2 separate regions of the Homo sapiens genome follow, and region 2 is linked to region 1. Evidence: promoter capture Hi-C in 16 types of primary human blood cells and fetal thymus (Javierre and others, 2016). All regions are on one chromosome and are shown on one strand. Each heading gives the region's core, a stretch centred on a gene start or on the middle of the fragment in contact. The rest is flanking DNA. Distances are from core to core; before and after follow the strand shown. Region 1 holds the start of IKZF3 (IKAROS family zinc finger 3). Region 2 holds the start of CDK12 (cyclin dependent kinase 12).

Region 1 (6,586 bases), core at 1,932-4,431:
TTGGCCTTTTCTGTAGGGATGGATGACTAGTCAAGATCGGGGAGCTCCAAAGGGGATCATGCCCGCGTCTTTGATGGTTCCTTCTTGGCTACTAGTTTGGTGGCCCGAAAGGCCCTGTGTGTTGTCTGTTTCTTAGCAGCGGGACACCACTCTCAGTAGTGGTTTTGAGTAGGCTGGTTAGTAGAGAGAGCCCAAGGTTCAGACAGGGTGCAGAATGGTTATTTTGGGTGAGATCAAGAGTTTTCGGTTTTATTTCCTTTGAGCCGAGTCAGTACTTGGACTCTCTCATATGGTCCAGGAGCAAACTTTGTCAGTAATTTCATTTTTAGTCACTGTTAATTTTACCTATATAGCATAAGCCATGAAATGTGACTCAGTGAGTCAGATCCACCCATTTTCAGTTACCATGTCTGGATACATGGTCTGGTCTCAACTGTTCTCTTCTTAAGGTGATGATAATGAAGACAGATTTAGGCATTATCTTTGATTCCCTACAAGTTCTTCATTCCAGTTTTAGTCAAAGTACATTATATATCCACAGTGTGTTTTATTGACTTTTTGGTTACTGTAAGTAATTGATAGTTGTAAATCCTGTGTGATAAACTAAATCCTATGAGAGGAGACTTAACCAAATGAGTAATAGTTGTCAAAAGTACCCATCCACTCTTTTTATATAAACTTTTTATTTTAGAAGAGTTTTAGATTTGCAGAAAATTTGCAAAAACAGTACAGAGAGTTTTTACATACTCCCTCCCGATTTTCCCTATTATTGACATCTTACATTGGTATGGTACATTTCTTACAATTAATGAACGGATATTGATATATTACTATTAACTGAAGTCCAAACTTTATTCAGATTTCCTTAGTTTTTTACTCAATGTCCTCCCTACCTCGTTTGTTTTTTTGCTCCAGGATCTCATGCGGGATCCCACATTACCTATAGTCATCGTATCTCCTTAGATTCCCCTTGGCTGTGTCAGACTTTTCTTGTGTTTGAAGGTCTTGACCTGGCTTTAATTGGTGAGGTATTTTGTAGAATGCCTCTCTACTGGAATTTGGTGTCTTTCTCCATATTAGACTAGAATTATGGATTCTTAGGAGGAAGATTACAGAGATAAAATGACATTCTCATCACATCATATCAAGGGGACATACTATCAACATGCCTTATCACTTGATGTTAACCTTGGTCTGCTGGCTGAGGTACTGTTTGTCAGGTTTCTCCACTGTCAACTTATTCCCCTGCTTTCATACTATACTCTTCGGAAGGAAGTCACTTTGTGCACCCACACTTAAAGAGTGGGGATTTATGCTGCATCTCCTTGAAGGTGGAGTAGCTACATAAGTTATTTTACCAATTCACTTTTAATCCCCTTAGGTATCACTCTCGGGAGTCCGAAATACTCAGTATTGAACTATTTACAGAGTACTAACACGTTCCACTGTCAAATATACAGAAGAACATTGTAATGGAAAATCATAAAGTTTCCTTACAACTTTTTTTTTTTTTTTTTGAGACGAAGTCTCACTCTGTTGCCCAGGCTGGAGTTCAGTGGCAAGATCTCGGCTCACTGCAACCTCTGCCTGCTGGGTTCAAGCGATTCTCCTGCCTCAGCCTCCTGAGTAGCTAGGATTAGAGGCATGCGCCACCACGCCCAGCTAATTTTTGTATTTTTAGTAGAGACAGTATTTTGCCATGTTGGCCAGGCTGGTCTCGAACTCCTGACCTCGTGATCCACCTGCCTTGGCCTCCCAAAGTGCTGGGATTACAGGCGTGAGCCACTGCGCCTGGCCTACAACTTTTTCATAACCAAATAACTTTTCATCCTCATACCATCCCTGTGAAATTTTACAGTTCCTCTTCTGCTACTTTTGATGTGCTATTTTTGCTTTTAGAAACTAACAAACAACAAATTTCCCCTTTCAGTACTAAAATTAGACCTAGTGTTTAGAGTATTTCTCCAAAATTGACATCCTGCAGAACTCCCAACTCATACAGTTATAGAGATGCTACTGTGGTGCTTAAAGCCAGTGTAGTTTTTCACCCACTTGAATATATATACACACATCACATAGACTGCCTATACCAACGACATACTATTGTTTAAAGCTACAATTCATAAAATTACAGCATGTATACTTTAACTTGTAAGTGTGGGTTTCTTCTGATATGGACAGCTGATGCACAAACCCTCAGCCTTAAGTCTCAAATATATTTGTATGCACTAATATAATTTTCTAATAGCGGTGACAGTGGCCTTTTGAGACTCATTCGTATATTGTCCCACACGCTGGATATCTTTAGAAGGGCTCACCTGAACAATGTCCCTTAGACCTCAATGTGAAGAAAAGTTCTGCTTTGAAAAACAGTTTTGTGGTCACTTCCCCTTTCCTCTCTCTGCAGTCAAATGTGTGCTTTACCTCTGGACAGTAGGGAGGGTGTTGGGAGAAGATGTTGACTGATACATATCTGTATACTAACATCTTTAAGTTAATTTTACAATCTTACTGCCCCCACCTTCCACCCTTAGCTCTACTTTCTTTGCTTAATTTTCTGGTACATCATATATGTATTTTTGTAAGGTGTGTATTTAGAAGAAGGCAGGCTGGGAGAAAATAAACACACTCTATAAAACACTCCCTCTATTTATATAGAGTGGGTAGTATTGCGTGAGTGGTGGCAAATAAATCAAGCAGTTCCCAGAGGGAAAACAAAAGTGAGATAAATGCTTCCAAAAATTAAAAAGTTGAATTGATAGAAGTGCCAAAATCCTTTCCAACTGTCTGAAAACTTGGACCAAAAACTTTTACCATGTGAAATGAAAAAGTGAGGAAGGAAAAAAAAATACTTTGAAAGAAGGGGGTTCTCATTGATACTTTCCACGGCTGTTATCACTGAATCTAGACAAAAAGTTCCAGATCTTCCTCAATTTAAGATAAACGTCTTTGAACTTCAGCTTGCCAAGAAAGCAAGGCTGACCCCCGACCCTCCGTGTGATGTCACTTTTCTCATCCATTATCCTTCTAAAATAGACATTTTGAGACAATTTAGTGATGCGACATTTCCATCCTGTCGGGGTTCCTTGGGTTTGACATTCGAAAGGGGGCTGGAGGCGCGGAACCCGCGGCACTCCGCGGCCAGCGTCCTTTAAAGCCGCCGCCAGCCAGCGCCGCTGTAACCCCGCGCACCGGCAGGTCGCCGGCTCCTGCCCTTTTCAGTCTGCGCCGACGCGGCTGCCGGATCCCGGGGACTCCCCGCGCCGGGAATCTCCCGCCAGCTGCGCGCTGAGTCCAGGCGACGGCAGGAGCACGTGGAGAGGCCGAGTAGCCACAGCGGCAGCTCCAGCCCGGCCCGGCAGCGACATGGAAGGTGAGCCTCCAGCCCGCTTCTTTTCTCCGGGGTCTTTGAGAAACTTAACCTGTGCAAGCAGTAGAAAGAGTTTCTTCTGAATCTCAGTTTTGCTTCTATTTACTTCTTTTGTCAAAAGTAAATATGAGGTATTTCAGAGGACAAAGCGCGTCGGTTCTCTTAACGTCTCTCACTTGTCCTTCCCCCGCCCTTTGGAAAGTGATAACTTCTTCGCAATTTTATTTCTAAAGAGTTGTCAGACATGGGGGGTCTACCCTACATCTGCAGAGGAAGAGCACTTAAGGGGTGTCCCTGAAATGGCTGCAAATCTGGGGTGGAATAATCAACCCTTTTGGATATTTTTTCCTTCATGGCCTCAGTGTTTATTGGAATTAGACTAATCTGAGTAACTTGTTTTCTTCCAAGGGTAAATGGTGTCATATGGGAAAGGTACATTTTAAAGCGGTTGGCATTTGCAGTTCCCTTGGAACTCGATCTTCTAATGAGTCTTCTTTACCCAGCGCAAAAAATCAGGTTCACATTAGGAGTTTCATATGAATTAATTTTGAAAGTCGTAACACTATCCTTGCTTCTCAAACATTTTTCATTCTGTACTTCCTTGGGATACCTAAAATTTCACACTGCTACTGTAAACTCTTCAATGGTCTTTTCAACAAGTGTTTCTAAAACCTTGAAAATGGCAAATGCATCTCAACTCGGGGGGGGATGGTGGGATTAAGAAATTCAGAATTTCATTCTATTAAAAATGAGATATTGACACCTAACTAAAATGTTACTTTGATAAATATGAAGATCGTGGGTATTTTCTTCATAATAATGGAAGAATCTCTAATTAACAATGAACTGATCTTTGGCAGCTTTATTTCTAGAGTATATAAAGTTGTTAAAATATCAAAAACTTTATGCTTTTAATTTTTTTAATTAGGGCTTGAAAACTTTAAAAATTTTGCATTTTTAACATTTAAATAATGGTTTATTGAAGTGTAATTTTTAACAAAGGTTTTATTGGCCAATAACAAGGAAAAAAAGTTGGGCTGTTGTATACTATGGGAAAAATAATTTTTGAAAAGCTCATATGCTTTAATTATTACAAATGATTAATTTGTTTTTATGAAATTATAAATCAGTACTCCAACACTATTTTTCCTAGCCGTAACCATACCACGTATCAAGGATAATGTACAGAATCATGTAAATCCATAGAAACTGGAGTATTTCTCTATAAATGTTAATACTTCCAAATTCATTTATTTAATGTGCAATAAAGAAACTAAATAGCATATCTTAGGTTATTGGTGTACTAACACAGATGTTTAATAAGCCTGAAGACTCCCTTAAGAAGAAAAGAATGAAAACTTGTGTAGAATTTAATTTAGAGTGTGTAGACTATAAATGGAAAGAGAATGTAGATCAATAACTTTTTAAAGTTGTGTTTACATGATTAGATTAAATCTATAGGTCCATGGAGATAGATAGTATAGATTATGCTTAATGAAAAAACTTTAACATTTAAATTTTAAAAAGAGGTTAATTATATGAATTTGGCTATTTTAATGTCAGGTCCTTGCGTATAGAGTATTTGATGTGGTAAAATATCTGGTTCATTATAGCTACCCAAAATAGACTAATCTGGCCCATGTTTTTGATATTTAAAAAATTTTTATATCATCTTGTGGTTTTGATCTCAGTCTAGATTAGAGATTTGGTCTATAGTGTATACCTCTCTTGGCAATGTAAGAAAGTAGAATACTTCATGGAATACCTTTATTTTCTGCCCAATTTGGGGGTCACATTGATTCATAACAGTTTATTGTACAATGCAATACTGTATATCATTCCTTCAGCATATAAAGTCATTTAACAAATTCATTTATCTTTTAATTAATTTATTGAGACTTTCTATGTATGAAGATGTCAGATGAATAAGCTTTTGAAATAGAAATCTTGTAGAAATGAAGATTTAATGAATATACTAAAATCAGAAGCTATAACTTTTTAATTTTCTCACAATCTGTGACCTTAAATATTTTCTACCCAAAGACTGTTTATGAATCACTAAATTTTATTATTTGTACTATAACATCTCTTCTGTCTGTTATGGTCGGGAAATGAGGTGGTTCACAAACATGAATTTCACAGGTAATGGCAGACTTCTTATTTAATGTAAAACATTTTTATTTTTAACAATATTGAGTAAAGATTTTTCTAAGTATATTTATTACACAGCTCCCTGCTTTATAAGCAAGGTACATAAGAGATAAGTTTATCTCGGCAACTCTGAGTTACTGTTCTCACCATCAGATCATATATTATTCCATAATATATTCTCACAGGGGTTTTGAGCTGAATGCCCCTACACCAAACATACCTAGGATATTGTACAATTTTTGTCTCCTTCTTGATGTCAGCTTATATTTCTTACCACATAGATTTTGTGGTAGTAGGGTTTTGTTTCAGGTCCCTTTCCATGTTCTGGATGGCTGAGATTAACAGAGATAAAGCCTGTAGATGATGGAATCTGTTTGCCCTCCATTGTGAGCGTATGGAGGATGAAATGCGAAGGTTTTAAGAAACAAAAGCCACAGAAAGGCCGTGGCGTCCTGGTAGAACATAATTTTTCAAAATTCCTGTTTGTACTTCCTTTAATCCAGTATGCTATTTCATGCTTCCATGTCTTTGCTATTATGTTCACCCATTCTCTACTTGCTTATGCCTACTCATCTTTCAAGACTCTGCTCAGGCATCATCGCCATGAAGGCTCTCTGATGACCTTCTTCTGATGACCTCCTCCTAGTGCCTTCTGGTGATCACCCCTACCCAGTCTCTCATGTTCCTTCACCTCAGCTAAGGGCCTCTCCTTTCTGTGTATACTTCTACCACATTGTGTTGAAATTATTTATTGATGTAGGTGTTTATTCCCCCTCTGGTCTTTAAGCTTCTGGAGAACAGAGACTGTGTCTTGTTTTTGTACACTGAATGCGAAGGACAGTTTCTGGTTCATAGAAGGCCCTCAGAATTTGTTGCATTCAATTAAAATAGTGCTGAAAAAGTACTTTTTATTATGTTTATTGTGATGCATTTTATTTAAATAAATTTTTAAAGTAGGAGATTGGGGCTAGTAATTCTTTGATAAAGCTCAGTAATTTTTTAAGCACTTAAACTGTATAATTGAAAAAGAAAGCTTGGAAAACAAAAATGTTATTGGATATTTTT
Region 2 (6,586 bases), core at 1,232-3,731, 400 kb after region 1:
CCCACATTCTGTTTTTGTGAACAGAAGTGAGGCCACAAAGGAGATACATCTCATTACCTAGGAACAAGAACACAGTTTTCCAAATAATTCACTCTAACAACAAAATTTCAAACTAGCATGCCTTTCTCGCAAAAATATAAAGAAGGCATTATTACTATGTGTTTTAGAGAAAGATTTTGAAAATTGTCAGCGGTCACAAGGTAGGTCAGTGATGATGCTGTAAAGAAAACCAAATTGTCCTTGGAACCAATTTCTGCTAGGTTATACCATTAAAAGGGTAACAGACTAATCAGCTGAATTTCCACTAAAACATCAGTTAAAAGACAGGAATCTTTTGTAAATAATTAAAACAGTGCCAAGTAGGAAATGAATAAATGTACAGGTTTGGGGATTCAGTGGACAACACAAATAGGATAAACTAGGCAAGTAACTTCCATACCAATTTCTTAAGTCTTCAACCAGGTCCCATAGAGTCTAAAGCACAAATACCAATGTGATTTTTAAAAATATAAAACTAAGCAACAGAAATAGCTAGACATGCTCTGGGAACTAGTATCAACTCCATCCACTCACTAAGCAGAAGCCTTTGACGTTTCTCACTCAGAAGCTTACAACTGAAGACCCCACCACTGGAAGTACCTACCTTTGGCGGTTTGAGGCCTATGTACTCTTCACTTCTCGAATTCTGGGTTAAGGGGAGACAGATTCACACACTGGAATGACTAGCCAACAGCAAAGTGTTCTAGTCAATGATGAACACTGCGGGCTTCCAGACAATGTTAACACGCTGAATGCCAATTCCTCGCAACCCACCCTAAATGAGGAAGGACTGTTAGACAAATAGCTCACCTGGGGAGTGGACTCCGACTCAGAGACCGCTTGCTCAGGAAAGGGCTGCTGGACCGCCTTCGACCATAGGGACTGGGCGATCGCCCGCTGTAAGAGCCACTTCTTTCGTAGCTGGACGACCGTCTCCTGCTATAGGGACTGACAGATCTCTGTCGCCTACTGTAGGGGCTCGGTGACCGGGTGCTGGACTGGTAGGCCGAAGGCTCCTTGTAAGGGGGACTGACCGACTGCCTTCTCGAGGTACTTCCAGGACTTTTCTTGTAGGAGTCATAATTGCTCGAGGTATGAGATCGTGAGGGACTAAGGTCATAATCTTGGCCATAAGAAGCTCCCGAGGGGCTATCATCTTGTTTGGAGCTGTCAGACCACTTCCTGTGGGGGCTCCTGGATCTCCGTTTTGGGCTGTCCACTGTTTTGTAACTTTTGGGTGTTTCCCTTTTTCGATGACTTTTACTCCGGTCTTTGTGCCCAGACTTCAGCTCCCGTTCTTTCCTGGTCTTCTCCTTGTGGAGCTTGGATGACCTGGATTCCTTGCTGCTGCTTTTGGCTACCTGCGCCTTCCCATAGTCATCAGTCTCCTCATTCGAACGCTTTGAACTTCCCGATATCCGGTCCTTCATCGATCCCGACTTGCTGGAGACTTCTTGGCTTTTTTCTTTTTCGGTCTGTTTAGCTTTTAGTAAGTCCCGGGAACGCCTGTGCTGGTGGTGACGATGTTTGTGCAGGCGGTCGCTCCGATCTGATCCACGACGTTCGTCGTTCTCCCTTCGGTCTAGTTTGAAGGCCATGTCATCGGAGAAGGTGTCGGAATCAGAGCTGATATCATCATACTCCACCAAAGGTTTGATAACTGTGCCCAGGGATGCTGCTTCGGGGGTCACCAACCCCATGTCTTTGGAGTGTTTGGACTTATGCCGCTTGTGCTTCGATACCAAGCGGTGACGCTCTCTGCTGTTAGAGCTGCCGCCTCCCGATGACGGCTGCAAAGTTCCAGAAGCTCCTCCACTCCCGTCCTTCTTGCCCCCATGTCTCTCTGAATTGGGCATTCCCTTTCCCCTGACCTGAAGAAGGGAAAAAAGTTCCCCAGCACTCCAAAAAGCAACCCCCACCCACCCCCCCAACCCCAACTCCACGCCCACCAAAGCGCCCCGGGAAGGGGGTGGGGAGGGCAGGGACGGTAGCCCAGGCTCCTCCTCCCTCCCGACGCCTCAGCACCCTTCTACATGAGGTGGGGGGTGAAGGAGCGAGGGAAGAAATGAGAGTTCCTCGGCAGTGGAGTTGCGAGACAACGGGGAGCTGCTCAAGTCTGTTTCCTCTTCTCCCTCCGCCGAGCCAGTCCTCAGGCCCGGGCGCCGGGGAGGTCCAGGAAGTGAGAAGCCGACGGCCCGGGGCTGTGGAGCCGACTCCAGCTCTGGGGCCCTGCGAGGACTACGCGGGCCCTTCCCCTACCCGGTAGCCCGGTTCAGGACGGCTTCCTGTCGCCGGGGTGCCGCGGCCTAGGTGCCTCACGCCCCCTTTGTCCCTCGCTCCTGAGGTAGCCCCCTTTCTTGCCTCCGTTTCACCTCCACACCACACACACTCTCTCCCTCACACAGACCCAGTCACACACTAGATTAAACCGAAACGGCACTTGGGGAAGGGGGGAGGGGCAATCCCAGAAATCGTCGCGAGAGTCCAGTAGCCTCTCGCGATGTTTCGTGCTTCGCTTTCACCTCATTCCCCTGCTTATCAAACAACGCGAGATCAGGTCCCAAACTAGAAACGCGTTTCACCTGAGTCTCGCGATGAGCTCCCGGAGCTCCCCGTTTGAGCAAAGCTTTATTGAAACGGAACAAACCGAGTTTTTTTTTTTTAACCAAAACTTTATCGGTAACTGATTAAACAAACACTCCCAGGCTCCGTGACAAAATAATTTCAACATCCTTTTTAACAAATCTTTTAACTACCAGGATGACTTTTTTTTGTTTGTTTTTTGTTTTCCTTTGAGACGGAGTCTCGCTCTGTAGCCCATCCTGGAGTGTTAGTGGCGCGATCTCGGCTCACTGCAACCTCCACCTCCTGGGTTCAAGCGATTCTCCTGCCTCAGCCTCCCGAGTAGCTGGGATTACAGGCGCCCGCCACCACGCCCGGCTAACTTTTTTGTTTTTAGTAGAGACAGGGTTTCACCATGTTGGCCAGGCTGGTCTCGACCTCCTGACCTCAAGTGATCCTCCCGCCTCGGCCTCCCAAAGTGCTAGGATTACAGGCGTGAACCGCCGCGCCGGGCCATTTTTTTGTTTGTTTGAGACAAGTTCTCTCTCTTTTGCCCAGACTGGAGTGCAGTGGCACGATCTCGGCTCACTGCAGCCTCCACCTCCTGGGCTCAAGCAATCCTCCCACCTCATCCTGCCGAGTACTTGGAACTATAGAGTCGCGCCACCACGCCGTGCTAATTTGTTTCTATTATTCGTAGTGATGGGGTTTCGCCATGTTGCCCAGGCTAGTCTCGAACTCCTAGACTCAAGCAATCCGCGATCCTTGGTCTTGAACTCCTAGAATGAAGCAATCTGCCCGTCTGGTCCTCCCAAAGTGGCGGGATTACAGGCTTGAGCCACCGCGCCCGGTTGAGATTATTTTTTACAGAGCAAAAGACAAATGTCGGGACATTTCAACCCAAGTCCCTGAGTGTTTTAACAGTGCTTCCCACATATAGGGTGTGTGCTACCTGCCAAGAATTTTACATACATTATCTCTAATTTTCACAATTATCCTGCAAAACACGAGATTTTCATCCCTGTTTTATAGAAAAGGAATCCCAGCCTCAGGGAAGTTGAATAATTTGGTCCAACAAGTGCCACAGTCAACATTCAAATTCATGTCTTTCTGAGACTAAAACACAAGCTCTTCCATCCTATGGTGTTGTCTCCTTACCAATCTTTGCTTCAAATCTCAGAACCTAAAAGCTCATCCCATCTTGAGATCCTCCCATGGCCGTTATTGGATAATTTAGCCTTTCATCCTCATACAAAAGATTATAATATGAACAAGAAAAGCATAGTATTAATTAACAAGAAAATAACACTATCTTACACTGGCCCCTCATTTATTACTTTTTAAAAAACTTTCGCCTACCTTAAGTCATTCCATCTTCACAACAGTCCTCTGAAATAGGTTGTATAAGTGAGAAAACTAAGGCATGGAGAAATGAAGGGGCTTGTCCAAAACGGAGAAGTTCAGCTGGTAAATTCAGGACCAGAAAACATTCTGAATTAAGGTAGTCTCAATTCTCAAAAATCACTCTCTGTAAATGTTCTTGTTCCTTTTGCTCACAGGGCGATCCAAAACATTTTTTTTTTTTAACCTAATTTTGTGTGTGTGTGTGAAGGGTCTCGCTCTGTCGCCCAGGCTGGAGTGCAGTGGCACAATCATAACTCACTGTAGCCTTCCCCTCATGGGCTCAGGTGATCCTCCCATCTCAGCCTCCTGAGTAGCTGAGACTACAGCCACAGGCCACCAGCCCAGCTAATTTTTATTTTTATTTTTTTGTAGAGATGGAGGGCTGGCTATGTTGCCGAGTCTGACCTCAGATGCCTGGGCTCAAGCATTCCATCCACTTTGGCCCCCAAAGTGTTAGGATTACAGGCGTGAGCCACCACGCCCGCCGTCTCTAAATGATTGAGTCCATAAATATTGGTTCTAAAATAAAAAGATCAGGCCAGGCACAGTGGCTCACTCCTGTAATCCCAGCACTTTGGGAGGCCAAGGTGGGCAGATCACAAGGTCAAGAGATGGAGACGATCCTGGCCAACATGGGGAAACCCCGTCTCTACTAAAAACACAAAAATTAGCTGGGCTTGGTGGCACACACCTGCAGTCCCAGCTACTCGTGAGGCTGAGGCAGAGGTTGAACCCTGGAGGCAGAGGTTGCAGCGAGCCGAGATCGCGCCACTGCACTCCAGCCTGGCAACAGAGCAAGACTCCGTCTCAAAATAAATAAGTAAATAATAAAAAAATTTAAAAAATAAAAAGACCAAGTTTTCCACGACAACTTTTTGATCTTCTATGGAAGTAAAATTAATGCTATCAAGAAAAAAGAAGTGGCTGGGAGCAGTGGCTCATGCCTGTAATCCCAGCACTTTGGGAGGCCAAGAGGGGAGGATCATTTGAGGTCAGGAGTAAGACCAGCCTGGCCAATGCAGTGAAACCCTGTTTCTACTAAAAATACAAAAATAGGCCGGGCGCAGTGGCTCACTCCTGTAACCCCAGCACTTTGGGAGCCGAGGCGGGCAGATCAGGAGGTCAGGAGATCGAGACCATCCTGGCTAACACGGTGAAACCCCGTCTCTACTAAAAATACAAAAAAATTAGCTGGGCGTGGTGGCGGGTGCCTGTAGTCGCAGCTACTCAGGAGGCTGAAGCAGGAGAATGGTGTGAACCCGGGAGGCAGAGATTGCAGTGAGGGGAGATCACGCTACTGGGAGGCAGAGATTGCAGTGAGGGGAGATCACGCTACTGCACTCCAGCCTGGGCAACAGAGCAAGACTCTGCCTCAAAAAAAAAAAAAATTAGAGGCCAAGCACTGTGGCTCATGCCTGTAATCCCAGCACTTTGGGAGGCCGAAGTGGGAGGACCACTTGAGGTCAGCAGTTCAAGACCAGCCTGGCCAACACAGTGAAATCCTATCTCTACTAAAAATACAAAAATTAGTCAGGCGTGGTGGTGATCGCCTGTAATCACAGATATTCAGGAGGTTGAGACAGGAGAATCGCTTGAACCCAGAACGCAGAAGTTGCAGTGAGCCAAGATCGTGCCACTGCGCTCCAGCCTGGGTGACAGAGCAAGACTCTGTTTCAAAAACAAACAAACAAACAACAAAAAAATATATATATATTTATATATACACACACACAAAAATTAGCCAGGCATGGTGGCATATGCCTGTAATTCCAGCTACTCAGGAGGCTGAGGCATGAGAATCACTAGAACCTGGGAGGCAGAGGTTGCAGTGAGCTAAGATTGCACCACTGCATTCCAACCTGGGCAACAGAGTGAGAATCCATCTAAAAAAAAAAAAAAGTGGCTAACAAAAAGAAAAAAGGGCTGAGTGTGGTGGCTGACATCTGTAAAACCAACAATTTGGAAGGCCAACATGGAAGGAATTCGTGAGCCCAGAAATTGGAGACCAGCCTGGGCAACATGTTGAGACATCTGTCTCTACAAAAAAATACAAGAAATGACAGGCCGAGCAAGGTGGCTCATGCCTGTAATCCCAGCAATTTGGGAGGCCGAGGCAGGCAAATTGCCTGAGTTCAGGAGTTTGAGACCAGCCTGGGCAACACGGTAAAACCCCATCTCTACTAAAATACAAAAGAAATTAGCCGCCGGGCTTGGTGGCTCACGCCTGTAATCCCAGCACTTTGGGAGGCTGAGGCGGGCGGATCACCTGAGGTCGGGAGTTCGAGACCAGCCCGACCAACATGGAGAAACCCCGTCTCTATTAAAAATACTAAAAAATTAGCTGGGCATGGTGGCCCATGCTTGTAATCCCAGCTACTCGGGAGGCTGAGGCAGGAGAATCGCTTGAACGCAGGAGGCGGAGGTTGCAGTGAGCCGAGATTGGGCCATCGCACTCCAGCCTGTGCAACAAAAGAGAAACTCTGTCTCAAAAAAAAAAAAAAAAATTAGCCAGGCGTAGTGGTGTGGGCCTGTATTCTCAGCTATTCGGGAGGCTGAGGCAGGAGAATTGCTTGAACCCAGG

The links. The method cuts DNA at HindIII sites, captures the fragments that hold promoters and counts their contacts. A CHiCAGO score of 5 or more calls a contact.
Region 2: a contact is called between the fragment with the promoter of CDK12 here and the fragment with the promoter of IKZF3 in region 1, in 1 of 17 cell types (total CD8 T cells). The highest score is 5.5, in total CD8 T cells.

What each region holds. Positions count from the first base shown.
Region 1 is chr17:39,860,907-39,867,492 of GRCh38, reverse strand. IKZF3 (IKAROS family zinc finger 3) reads left to right here and starts at 3,181. Exons shown (of 8, transcript NM_012481.5): 1 at 3,181-3,373. The coding sequence starts at 3,367. RefSeq lists enhancers at 1-11, 2,423-2,482, 2,543-2,612, 3,340-3,429, 3,440-3,559 and 2 more and a silencer at 22-237. The HindIII fragment of the contact is 8,560 bases long and covers 1-5,302 here.
Region 2 is chr17:39,457,381-39,463,966 of GRCh38, reverse strand. CDK12 (cyclin dependent kinase 12) reads right to left here and starts at 2,481. Exons shown (of 14, transcript NM_016507.4): 1 at 850-2,481. The coding sequence starts at 1,895. RefSeq lists enhancers at 1,700-1,829, 855-2,054, 2,220-2,279, 2,370-2,419, 1,780-2,704. The HindIII fragment of the contact is 2,058 bases long and covers 610-2,667 here.